2 separate regions of the Homo sapiens genome follow, and region 1 is linked to region 2. The links are contacts of gene promoters, found by promoter capture Hi-C in human tissues and cell types (Jung and others, 2019). All regions are on one chromosome and are shown on one strand. The core of a region is centred on a gene start or on the middle of the fragment in contact, and the rest is flanking DNA. Distances in the headings are between cores, read along the strand shown. Region 1 has its middle 50 kb from the start of ABCC9. Region 2 holds the start of ABCC9 (ATP binding cassette subfamily C member 9).

The links. The method cuts DNA at HindIII sites, captures the fragments that hold promoters and counts their contacts. A contact is called where the count stands out against the background at its distance.
Region 1: a fragment that was not itself captured here is called in contact with the fragment with the promoter of ABCC9 in region 2 in 4 of the 25 tissues and cell types used here (heart left ventricle, mesendoderm cells, neural progenitor cells and 1 more).

Annotation. Positions count from the first base shown.
Region 1 is chr12:21,988,769-21,994,535 of GRCh38, reverse strand. No RefSeq gene overlaps it. Among named protein-coding and RNA genes, the nearest start is that of ABCC9, 50 kb to the right of the region's middle. The HindIII fragment of the contact is 9,375 bases long and covers 1-5,767 here.
Region 2 is chr12:21,939,434-21,944,425 of GRCh38, reverse strand. ABCC9 (ATP binding cassette subfamily C member 9) reads left to right here and starts at 3,000. Exons shown (of 40, transcript NM_020297.4): 1 at 3,000-3,226; 2 at 3,601-3,716. RefSeq lists an enhancer at 2,590-3,567. The HindIII fragment of the contact is 18,026 bases long and covers 1-4,992 here.

The DNA of each region.
Region 1 (5,767 bases), core at 2,035-4,534, 50 kb before region 2:
ACTAGACTGAGGGGCCTGAGGGTGGACTTACAGAGTCATAGTCAGCTTGAGAGATAGATAGACATTATCAATTCTATCCATTACTCCTTTCTTCTTTCTTCACAGGCATTGAAAGAAACATTTTCCTCTACTCTTGCAATTAGGTGGACCATATCTTAATTTGATCAATAAAATGAGATTGGAAGTGTCTTAGTCAGTTTGGCTGCTATAATAGAATACTGTATATTGGTGGCTTGAACAACAAGCATTTATTTCTCACAGTTCTCAGGCTGGAAGGTCCAAGATCAAGGTGCAAGCATATTTGGTGTCTGGTGAGAGCCCTCTTTCTGGTTTGCAGATGGCCACCATTCTGCTGTATCCTCACATGGCAGAGGCAGAGAGGAAGTTGGCTCTGGTCTCTTCCTATAAAGACACCAATCCCATCATGAGGACCCCAGCCTCATGGCCTCATCTAGATATAATTAGCCTCCATAGTCCTCACTTCTAAATATTATCACTTTAGGGGAGAGGGTTCCAACATATGAATGTTGGGGGACACAAACATTCAATCCCTGGCAGGAAGTGATGCTGTATCAATTAGGGAGCTGATAGCAAAAACCCAAGGTGATTCTCCAGTCTCTCTTCCCCTACCATAGTGACAGAGAAGACCACATGGTCTAGATAAGATGACTACAAGTTGGTTGGCAGAATCTTCCTCAGCATGGCCTCTGAGTGACTGCATAGTCACTCAAAGACCCCACTACAGCAGAGGCCTTGCTGAGGAAGGTTCTACAAACCAACTGAGTGACTATGCACAGTGACTAGGCTTCTGAGTGACTATACAGAGGCTTCCAGAAACCTCGACAGACATGCAGTGTGAGTTAGAAATAAACTTTTGTGTGTTCAATCACTGAGATTTGGGGATAGTCTCCCTTCCCTTCCCTTCCCTTCCCTTCCCTTCCTTTCCCTTCCCTCCCCTCCCCTCCCCTCCCTCCCTCCCTTTCTCTTCTCTTTCTTTTCTTTTCTTTTCTTTTCTTTTCTCTGCAGCATAGCCTCTCCTATCCTAACCATGGGCAAGGGCAGAATCTCCAACCTTACAAACGGCAGAAGATTGAAGGCCCTAAAGAGACCTGAGGTTGGAATGAGTAGGATTTGGAGTGTATGAACTTCACGACCAAGGACCACAGAGAAAGCATAGACTCAGCAGTAATACCGGCCTCATGATGGCAATAAAAAGTCTTGCTGTGATCAGCAACACTATAGCTAAGGCAGAGACCCTTCTTCTGATTGCAGCATAATATGTAAGTTCTCTGGAAATTTAAGTTTACTTTAAGAAAAGGGAGGAAAAGTAAAGATACAAAGGAAAATCTTGAGTGATTGAATTTAAATACTAAGTTGATTGCTTTAAAATCAGAAAAGATGATATGCTGTGTCATCGTCATGTTCTGCTACAGAGACTGTTGTTTGTCTGCCCCTATATCTTTCTCTTTCCTTATGCCTTGATCTTATTCAGCACCATCAATGAAGTGGAAGTGGAAGTGTGTAACTTCTGAGAAATTTTCATAAAAGACAGCTGGAGGGTGCCCTTTGGCCTCTCTGCTACTTCCTCCTTCCTGCTGCTTAAGATGCAGATGCAATGCATTTGTAAGCACTGTGGATGGGAGAGCTCAGAGATCTCTGTGGGCCCCTACGACTCTAGGAAGCCACTGTATCAGGCCCCAGCTGCGTTCTCTAATCTTCATTAAACTTAAGAGCATAAACCTGCACATTTAAGCCTCCATAGTAGGGTCTCTGTTCTATGAAGCTGAACCGAATCCTAACTGATACCCTTTCCTTCTCTTGGTTATATGGCAAGCAATTTCAAGAACCAGAAGCCACAGGAAAGTAGCAGCAGAATTCTAGGTAGAAACCACATTCTGAAGAAGGATCTCAAAGATAACAGTGGGAAAGATTCTTTGTCCTGTGCATTGGAAAAGACAAATTCTCTAAGACAAACATTCACTGTGTTTTATTACTATATTCTTACAAATAGGAAAATTATCCTTTCCAAACCAGTTGCTTGCATCCTAAGAAATGTAGGGCTCCTTATGCTAGCATAAAATGGTGCATTAGTAAACCAAAATTATCCAGCATCAACTAATATGATAGTTGGACTTGCAATCCAGGAAGCACATTTGATGAAGTGTTAACTGTCTAAACAACAGTGAGGCACAGGTAAGTATGGGATTCCCAAATGTGCTTCAGCAATATTTTTGAAATTTTGCATTATTTAACACTGGAAATAATCTTATCTAATTCTTCTATATAGATTACTAGCCGGCTAGGTAGGAATCTTTATTACACTAGAATCTTGTCTTATCTTTTTGCATACTCTTGTGGTTAAAGCGATAATAAAATTTCCTAACTCTAAACCAATTGCTCATGCAATTGGTTTAATGCAATTGATTTAAAGCAAGTTAACAGCTTCTAGGAGACTGTGGCTTTCCCTCAAAGGAGTCTTTGTGAAATTTACAAGAAAGCTAAGAATCAGCTACTTGCTTCCATAATTTAGAGAGGCATTGAGAGTCTCTTTAAACCTTATTTAAACATGCAGTGAATAATCAGAATAGAAATGACCAGAGGTATTTTGTTTCCTCCGTCGTGTAAGAGACAGAAATGTGTCTTTCCATCTTTTTTTTGTCCTCACCCCCAATTCACACACATTTATGTGATGGGTCAAAACATTTTAACATATGTGCAAATACGTGTGTGTGTTCTTAACCTTCTTTTTTTTTTTTTTTTTTAACTTTTGCTGACCTAAGAGATTCTAACTCTGTCTACCAATCTGCCAAGTCTTCTTTCCTTCACCTTCTGTGAATAGTTCTGCTTTTTGCCATCTGGGTTCTTCTGAGCTTTGCAGAATAAGGAAAAAAGTGACAGGCGCAGGACAAATAATATGAAAGACTGTGGAATGGAGGAAAGAAAGATGGAAAAGAAGAGGGGTCTATGTATAAACTTCACAGTGTTTGTGAAATAAAAGTAAAGATATTGAGTTATTCTGAAATTACTTTTTGGTAGCTGGATTGTGTAATTGTGAGCAATCAGTCTTAGAGTTTAATAAGGTCATAGACTTAAACCCTCATACCTCTTTAGACAGTCCCCTCTAAATTAGACCCCTACTTCTCAACTATTGAAAACCCATGGATTAACACAAAAATTTTATGACCATCCACTTTCAGGGATTTTGACATGGCCCTTGAGGGCATAGTTGAAAGTCACTGGGGAATCTATGTTTTCTCACCAGCGAAGGCAATTTTGTTAAATTTACTTTCTGTAGACTGTATTATAAAAATCAATAGAATGCCTGTTAGATGTATATAGGTATCTTATAACATATTGAATAGTATATGACCTGTCATGCAAAACGTGGATGTCTTCCTGCCCCTGTTGCTTTAAATGGAGAATCCTGCTCCAAATCTGAAGTGAGTATTGTAGAGAGGATCCTAGCCAACAACCTGCAGGTTAAAGAGTAAAGTGAATAAAGTATGCTCAACTGTAAAATGGAGCTGTTTGGATTTGGGAGCATTAAGCAGGAGAGGTGAAAAGTAAAGACAATACTGGAAGCAAATGGCTGACTATTGAGACAAGAGTTGAAGATAACTCTGATAGGGTAGATCGCATTGAGTGAAGTAAGCTTTGCCAGCAGCTATCCCCAACAACAGACTGTGGGATTCACAGAAGTTTAGTAGCTCTAGCTTGTGGTATGCAGAAGAATTCCTCAAAAGTCTGTGTGCACAACATCCAAATGTCAGAATTCCCGCTAAGTTAGAAACTGCTAAGCTGCTTCTTTCTACATATATTTGAATCACATACCTTATTCTTATGACAAATATTCTGAAGAATTACTTATTTCATTTTTCTTTTTCTTTTGAGATGGAGTCTCACTCTGTCACCCAGGCTGGAGTACAGTGGCGCGATCTCAGCTCACTGCAACCTCCGCCTCCCAGGTTCAAGCAGTTCTCCTGCCTCAGCCTCCTGAGTAGCTGGGATTACAGGCGCATGCCACCACGCCCGGCTAATTTTTGTATTTTTAGTAGAGACAGGGTTTCACCATGTTGGGCAGGCTGGTCTTGAGCTCCTGACTTTGTGTTCTGCCCGCCTCGGTCTCCCAAAGTGCTAGGATTACAGGTGTGAGCCACTGTGCCTGGCATTATTTCATTTTTCATAGCTAGCTAAATAATGCTGTTCTATGATAAGATCTTTCTAAAACTTTAGGTGTCACTATAAAAGGCACATCTTGAATTAAAAAAGTTAAGATAGAGATAGAGTCTTAATTTTTTTTCCGTCCTATGTATTCTCTCAGCAGTTTGGTTCAAAGCATATTTGTTAGGAGTCAATGCTGCACTGGCTGCTGGAGATATGGTAACGAATGGTACCCTAGCCCTGGCATGTAGAAATACTTTCAATGTGTTAATAACATATTTTTTTTCCACAGTTAACTTTTCTATTAGTTAAATTAGGAAAATTTTTACATTGTCTTACGAATATCCAGTCTCTCAACTCAGCACTAGAGGGAGCAACAGTGCAGAAGAAAAGCTATGAAAATGTGAGCTTCACTATTATTATAGCAATATTGAAAATCACAAAATTTCAGAAAAAAAATATGGCTGAAAGGAGGTAGAATGTCTAACAGTGTGTGGAGGTGAGTGGCTAACCCGTCAGTAAAGTTAGGGAAAGCTGGAGATACCGCTTTGGAGAACTGAAATCTTTTTGAGGGATTTTTTTCCAAGAATAGGGCTTGAAATCTACATTAAACAGTATCTAGGAGACTAGGAGACATCACTCTCAAAGACTTTACTGCCAATATTTATTGACAAGTGCCACCAATCAGCAAGGATAAGACAAGAATAAGTGGGTAGAAACGTTTTTGGCCACAAGCAATACAATTTTGACCTGGGCAATGACCAGACCCTTGAAAACACAGTACTTTTAGAATGAATAACTATATAATGCACAGGACATGCTGTGTTATTTTCTGATAAGAACTTTTTGAAAAATTCAAAAAATTTTGAATGGAAGACAAAGAATTATGCAAAAATTTTAGTACTGAGGACAGAATGATGACTACCATGTACTAAGTGCCTGTCCTTGGCTTTAAATGTATTGTTATGTACAGTTTATTATGACCCTAATGAGGTAGGTAGTTCCAGCTGTATTTCTCATATTGGAAAATAGGCTTAATATAAGCCAAGTGTTAAAGAAATAATTACTGGATCATCATACTATATTTATGTAATATATAATACTGAAAATAAGTAAGATTAACATTCATATTGGTAGTCAGGAATATTATTAGGATTGATACAAAGTATGGCTAAATTTATTATTTGATTTAATATAAAGACCTAAAAATGTGTATTATCTAAGAAAAATTTGTAGCTTTTGGCTTTTGACATTTAGTAGAAGTATTAATCATTCAGAAGTAAACTATATATCTTATTACCAAAATAAAAGGCCTAGGTCATATTGTTCTTGAATTTTAAGTGATGGTTTAAATCTTAACATATTTGAGCTAATACATAGAAGTGCTTATTGTCAGAAGTCACTTAAACTCTATAAAGTCCTTGTAATTCCTTATACTGATTCAAGTGGTGCTGATATCACTTTCTTTGCAAGGTTTTATGTCATGAGTGTGTTGATGTGGACAATGGGATGTGATGTACCAACTTAGATTCTTTCCAGCTCCCTGGTGTTACTGCTTTTGTGTAGGACTTGCTAAACTAATAGCTGAGAACAAAAGGCACTGGGA
Region 2 (4,992 bases), core at 1,751-4,250:
GTACATCCTTAATAGCAGTACAAAATATTAAAACAAAAATATGAAATTTGTATGATCAATCTTTACAAAATATGCACAGACCTGTATAAATTTAATACTGGGATAAAAGGAAGACAAATAAATGGGAAACTACATTTCTGGGTGAAGAGACAAAGCACTAAAAATATGTTCTTTATAAATTACTTCCTAGTTTTAATGAAATTCCAATAAAATCCCCAAAAGAGAGGAGCTTTGAAAATTTTGAAAAGAGTGAAAAGGGGACTGGCACTGTCAGGGTTACAATATAATTTAATCTCTGATAATCAAATCAGTCTAATCATAGCAATATAATAAAAAATTGAAACAGATCAATTGAACAGAATAGGTAGCCCGGAAACAGATCTTATTATGAACTAATTATGTGTATATGACAAAAGTGGTATTACACCACAATGCAGAAGAAAAAGATTATTCAGTAAATGGTGTTGGTGTAACAAATAAAGTATAAATGCAGATTTTCATCCCATAGTGTATGCCAAAATAAATTCCAAAATCAAATTTTTACTAAAGCCTTTAAACAAATATAAATGAAGGTAAATATTTATTAACTAAAGTGTTCTAATACATTGCAAAGGCAACAAGCAGCAAATTTGCCTACGTAAAATTTCCCTTAGGAGAAAGTTCAATGAAGTGCAATAGACCCTAGAGATCTGACTCATCACTAGCTTCTATGTCTAGCACATAGTGTGTGCTCTAATAAATCTTTACAGAACACATGAAAACTTTTTTCTTACTTTTTTGAAAGGCAGCAGCACTATCATTTTTTAACAATATGACAAATTGGGAAAAATGTGTCATATATGAAGCAGGATTAGTATCCTCTTATTAAACATTTGATTAGTATACTCTTATGAAACATTTATACAAATGGTAAACTTCATTAAGACCCATGAGGTACACAAGTATGTGAACAAACTGCCACAAAAGAGGGGATACAAAGATTAATCAATAGTGGGGAAATGTTGAATGTGAATAACAGAATTGAATATTATCTGTCAAGTTAAAATATTTTTTTAAAATAAAAAATAGCAATATCCAATGCTGGTTTGAGTATAAGTGTAATAGCTCATCTCATACAATTTGGGGGACTTAATACGAACTTCATAGAAGGGTGATTTTGCATTCTATGTTGACAGCCTTAAAAATATCTACCACTTTTGATCCCGTAATTATTTTTCACATAATTTATCTTAAAACATTACTTGTTAGAAAGAAAAAAAGTTTATGAAAAAAGGTCATCATATGATCACAGATATTAGTAAAATTGGGCAAATACATGTCAAACAACGGGAAAATGAATCTTATGGTATAGCCTTTCAATGGAATAGTATATAGCCATTTAAATTATTTTAAAAATTATTCTATATTTATTTAAATTATTTATCTTTATTGTCCCATTAAACAGAGGAGGAAGCTGATACACAGAGGGTTTATGTGACTTGTTCAGTCTCTGAACTAACTAGCAGGATGTGATATCGAGCAGGCTGCCTTCCTAGTCCACACTCTTAATCAATGCACCATACCGCCTGTGTTTGTTAAAACATAAAAAAAAATGTTTTCAGTAGTTTTATGGGTGTGTGTGCACAGGTGCATCTACGGGGGGCTCCTTGATCTCCTCTGTACACTTTCACATCTTCCAAAGTTTCTACAATAAGCATGATTTTTAAACATTGTAAATGACCTTAATGAATTGTAATATTCTTTTATAATCCTCAAGTAAACTTCATTTTGTGTAGTCACACTCAAGAGTTTTCATCTTGGGATTATTGGCACCCCCTATTTCCAGTTCTCTCTCCATAGATGCCCTGGAGAGCCTCTGGCCTCGCGTCCAGCTTGCTCACCCGGCCACCCTGGGCTGCATCCATAGTACCAGGATCCTCACTGTTGAAACGCTCTCTTATTTCCCTGCGCCGCTGCAGACAGCTCCAGGGTAAAGTTGTCAAGCGTTCAAAGGCCACAGGAACGGAGTCTTCGGACCCTCCCAGGTTTCGGCCCCATATGGCCTCGCAGATTCCTAGCGGCCGCGGGTTCAAGTCCCAGCCGCTGACGCAGGTCAGGCACTCACCCGGAAGCGCAGCGACCTTCCCAAGAGTGGGGCGCCGGCGGAGAAATCCCCTGGGACTGGCAGGGCTGGAGTCGGCCTGCATCGCACAGGCCACGAGGCCACCGGTGTTTAGGGTTCAGATCTGGGGACCAGCGCCAGCAGACCGCAGTCCTGCAGCGGCGCCCCTTGAGGACGGCATGCGGAGCCTCAGGGGCAGAAGTCCGCCCGGCTGACCATCCTTTATTAAAATACGACAGTTCCTGAAAACAATGCTTATCTCAAGCTGACTCAAAACTGGCTCTTGAGAAAATCCGGTGTTAATTAAAGAGGGTTGTCGGGGACAAAATTCACGGCTTGTGTTTCGCGGGGGAGTGGTTGTGGGGTGATCTTAATATAAACACGTTATCTCGAGAGTTAATTATGTCTCTGGTTGGAAACAGGAGAAGAGGGTGACTGTTTACGCAGTCCATGGGAATCAGCGTCTCACTTTAGGGGACGGTGGGCAAGGGTCGCCCTTCGATAGCGCGGCGGCTGGTCCACCAGAGAAACCAAGTTTTCTAGGTCGCCGGGGAAAAGCGGAAAATTAGACTTGAGCCAGCCTTGCTCCTGTGAGACATTCGTGCACTCATAACCCAGCAGTGGGTGCCTCTACCTAGAATGAGCCCTTCATTTCCCGGATCCGTTCAGGGGGAAACAGCGAAATCCCCAAATCCGCTTCCTTACGTGGCTAATAAAGGGGTGCTTACAGAGCATGGAAAAACAAAACAAAGAAACAAGAATACCTTGAGTGTTTTGACGTTTGAAAACCCGACTCCGGAGAATCATGGAATCATATTCCAAGTTTCAGTGTCTAATGAAGTTTAAGGGGACGCCTATTACTTGGGTTTGTAAAATCGCGGCGTCGCGCCCGCCCCAAGTCAAAGCTGAGCAGAGCAGGGATGGGGAAGGTCTCCGGCCCCAGGCGCGGCGCGCGGGGCTTCTGCCCAGTTTCCTGCTTCTCAGCCGCGGTGTCTGCCCCGGCCCAGAGCAGTCTGTGCAATTTAGAAACTCGATAGGAGGCAGCAGCTGGTCTCCCACCACCCTAAAAATAATCCGTTCCGGCGCACTGCGTGCTTCGCCTAGGGGAGGAAAACTGTCATCGGAGTAAGTGAATCCGTGTCTTTTACATGAATGCCATTTAAACATTTTTAGGAATAACTGTAAGTTGTCGATTTTGAGCTAACATTTCTGCTATCCAAAAACGCCCTCGCACTCTCTCGCACTTCTCGGCACTTAGCTTTCGCGATCGCTATTTCTAGAATTAAGGGACGAGGCCCGGCTCGAGAAGTGAAGGGGTGGGGATCAGGTTTCCAGTTTTACTTCAAAACTGCCGTCTCCTACTCAAATCAACTGGAAACAGTGAAAGGAGTTATTATTATTAGGAGTTATTATTACCGCCTTTCTTGTAGACAATTCTTGTATGTTCAAGAAGTAGTTTTCTATCTGCTTAATTTTTGTTACTCTTTACTTTTTTTTAGGAGTTCTGCGTCCGGGTTTGAAATTTACATCTTAAGACAGTGTAGGAAGTCGGTGTTTTGAAGGTAGCTCAAGTGCACCGGCAGGGGTTTGAAGCAGCGTGAAGCTATTGCCCAAGGTATTTATTTTTTGCTTTATTTGTTCAGTTTGGGATTTTTTTTAAAATCCCATTGCAGTATCTAAGGAATACCTACTGAGTAATTTCAACATTTCTTTTGGTGTGGGATGGTACTTCACAGCCACTGAAGAGTAAATGGGTGGATTCAGATCAGGCACTAAGTCAGAAGTCAGTGGTCATTTTTGCCAGTGATTTTCCCACTTGGATCTGTCATAGTTATAGCCATGGTAGCTAGCTAACTAGCTATACATCTTCTAGTTTTTATTTCATGAACTAGGGACTGAATAACTTCAAAGAAGTGATTACAGCATTTGTTTTTGCAAGTGACATCCATCCTGAAAATGCTCTAGATGATGATAAAGCCCTAAGTTCTTTAAAATGTCCTGCTTCTCTTTCATAACAGAATTTGGTTAATCTCTAAACGATTAAAGAATGAATCCTTTTATATGTAAGAATGAAAACTTTTATTTAAATTTAGCATGTTTTCTCCAGGTGTTTCCAGCATTTTAAACTCTCTGCAATTGCTATTCGATCAGAACTAACGCTTTCTGCTAAGTGAACAGGAAGGAAGACAAGTTTTCACTTGCTTTACTTGTAGTCTATTTCCAAAGGACAGGGCTGGCCACAATAAATGGTGTACCTTATATGCCTCAGCACTTAAATGTGTTTTTAGAATTAAATCAGATAACTACTGCTCGTGTCTTGCAGAGGAACCAACAGACTGGATAGGTCAGGTATTATATTCACCAACTAAATCCAAAATGTATATGTTCTAGATGTGTGGAATTTCATGTAATGCATTTCGAGGAATAAAAACACTGAGGGTGCGATTCTTGCCATGAAATCGTAAGTTAGATAATTAGGAGTATTTCTATTTTATGTTTTCTGCTCCATAGACATACGTTAGAAGCAAAATTTCACTTTGATCTTTGTTTTTAAAGTTTATTCAGTCAAGTTCTCCAACTCTATCACCTCTCATAAACAACTGAGCATATTTCGATGGCTTATGCTTGTGGAAAGGGAAACATTATATCTCCCCATCTGCTCTCCCTTCTCTCTCTCTCCTTGATGCTTGGGCCTCCCTCAGTGCTTAGCTGAATCTAAACAGCTCCAGAAGGGGTGGAGCTGAAGGATGTCAGGTGACAGAGTTTAGCCAGCAAGAACAGCGATTTATACCCTTCCCCAAACATTCCCAATTGAACCTGGTGTCTGGGAGGGAAACATTAAATGACAATTGGAAATTTAAGGATTAGGAACGTGGATTGAATAAAATGCC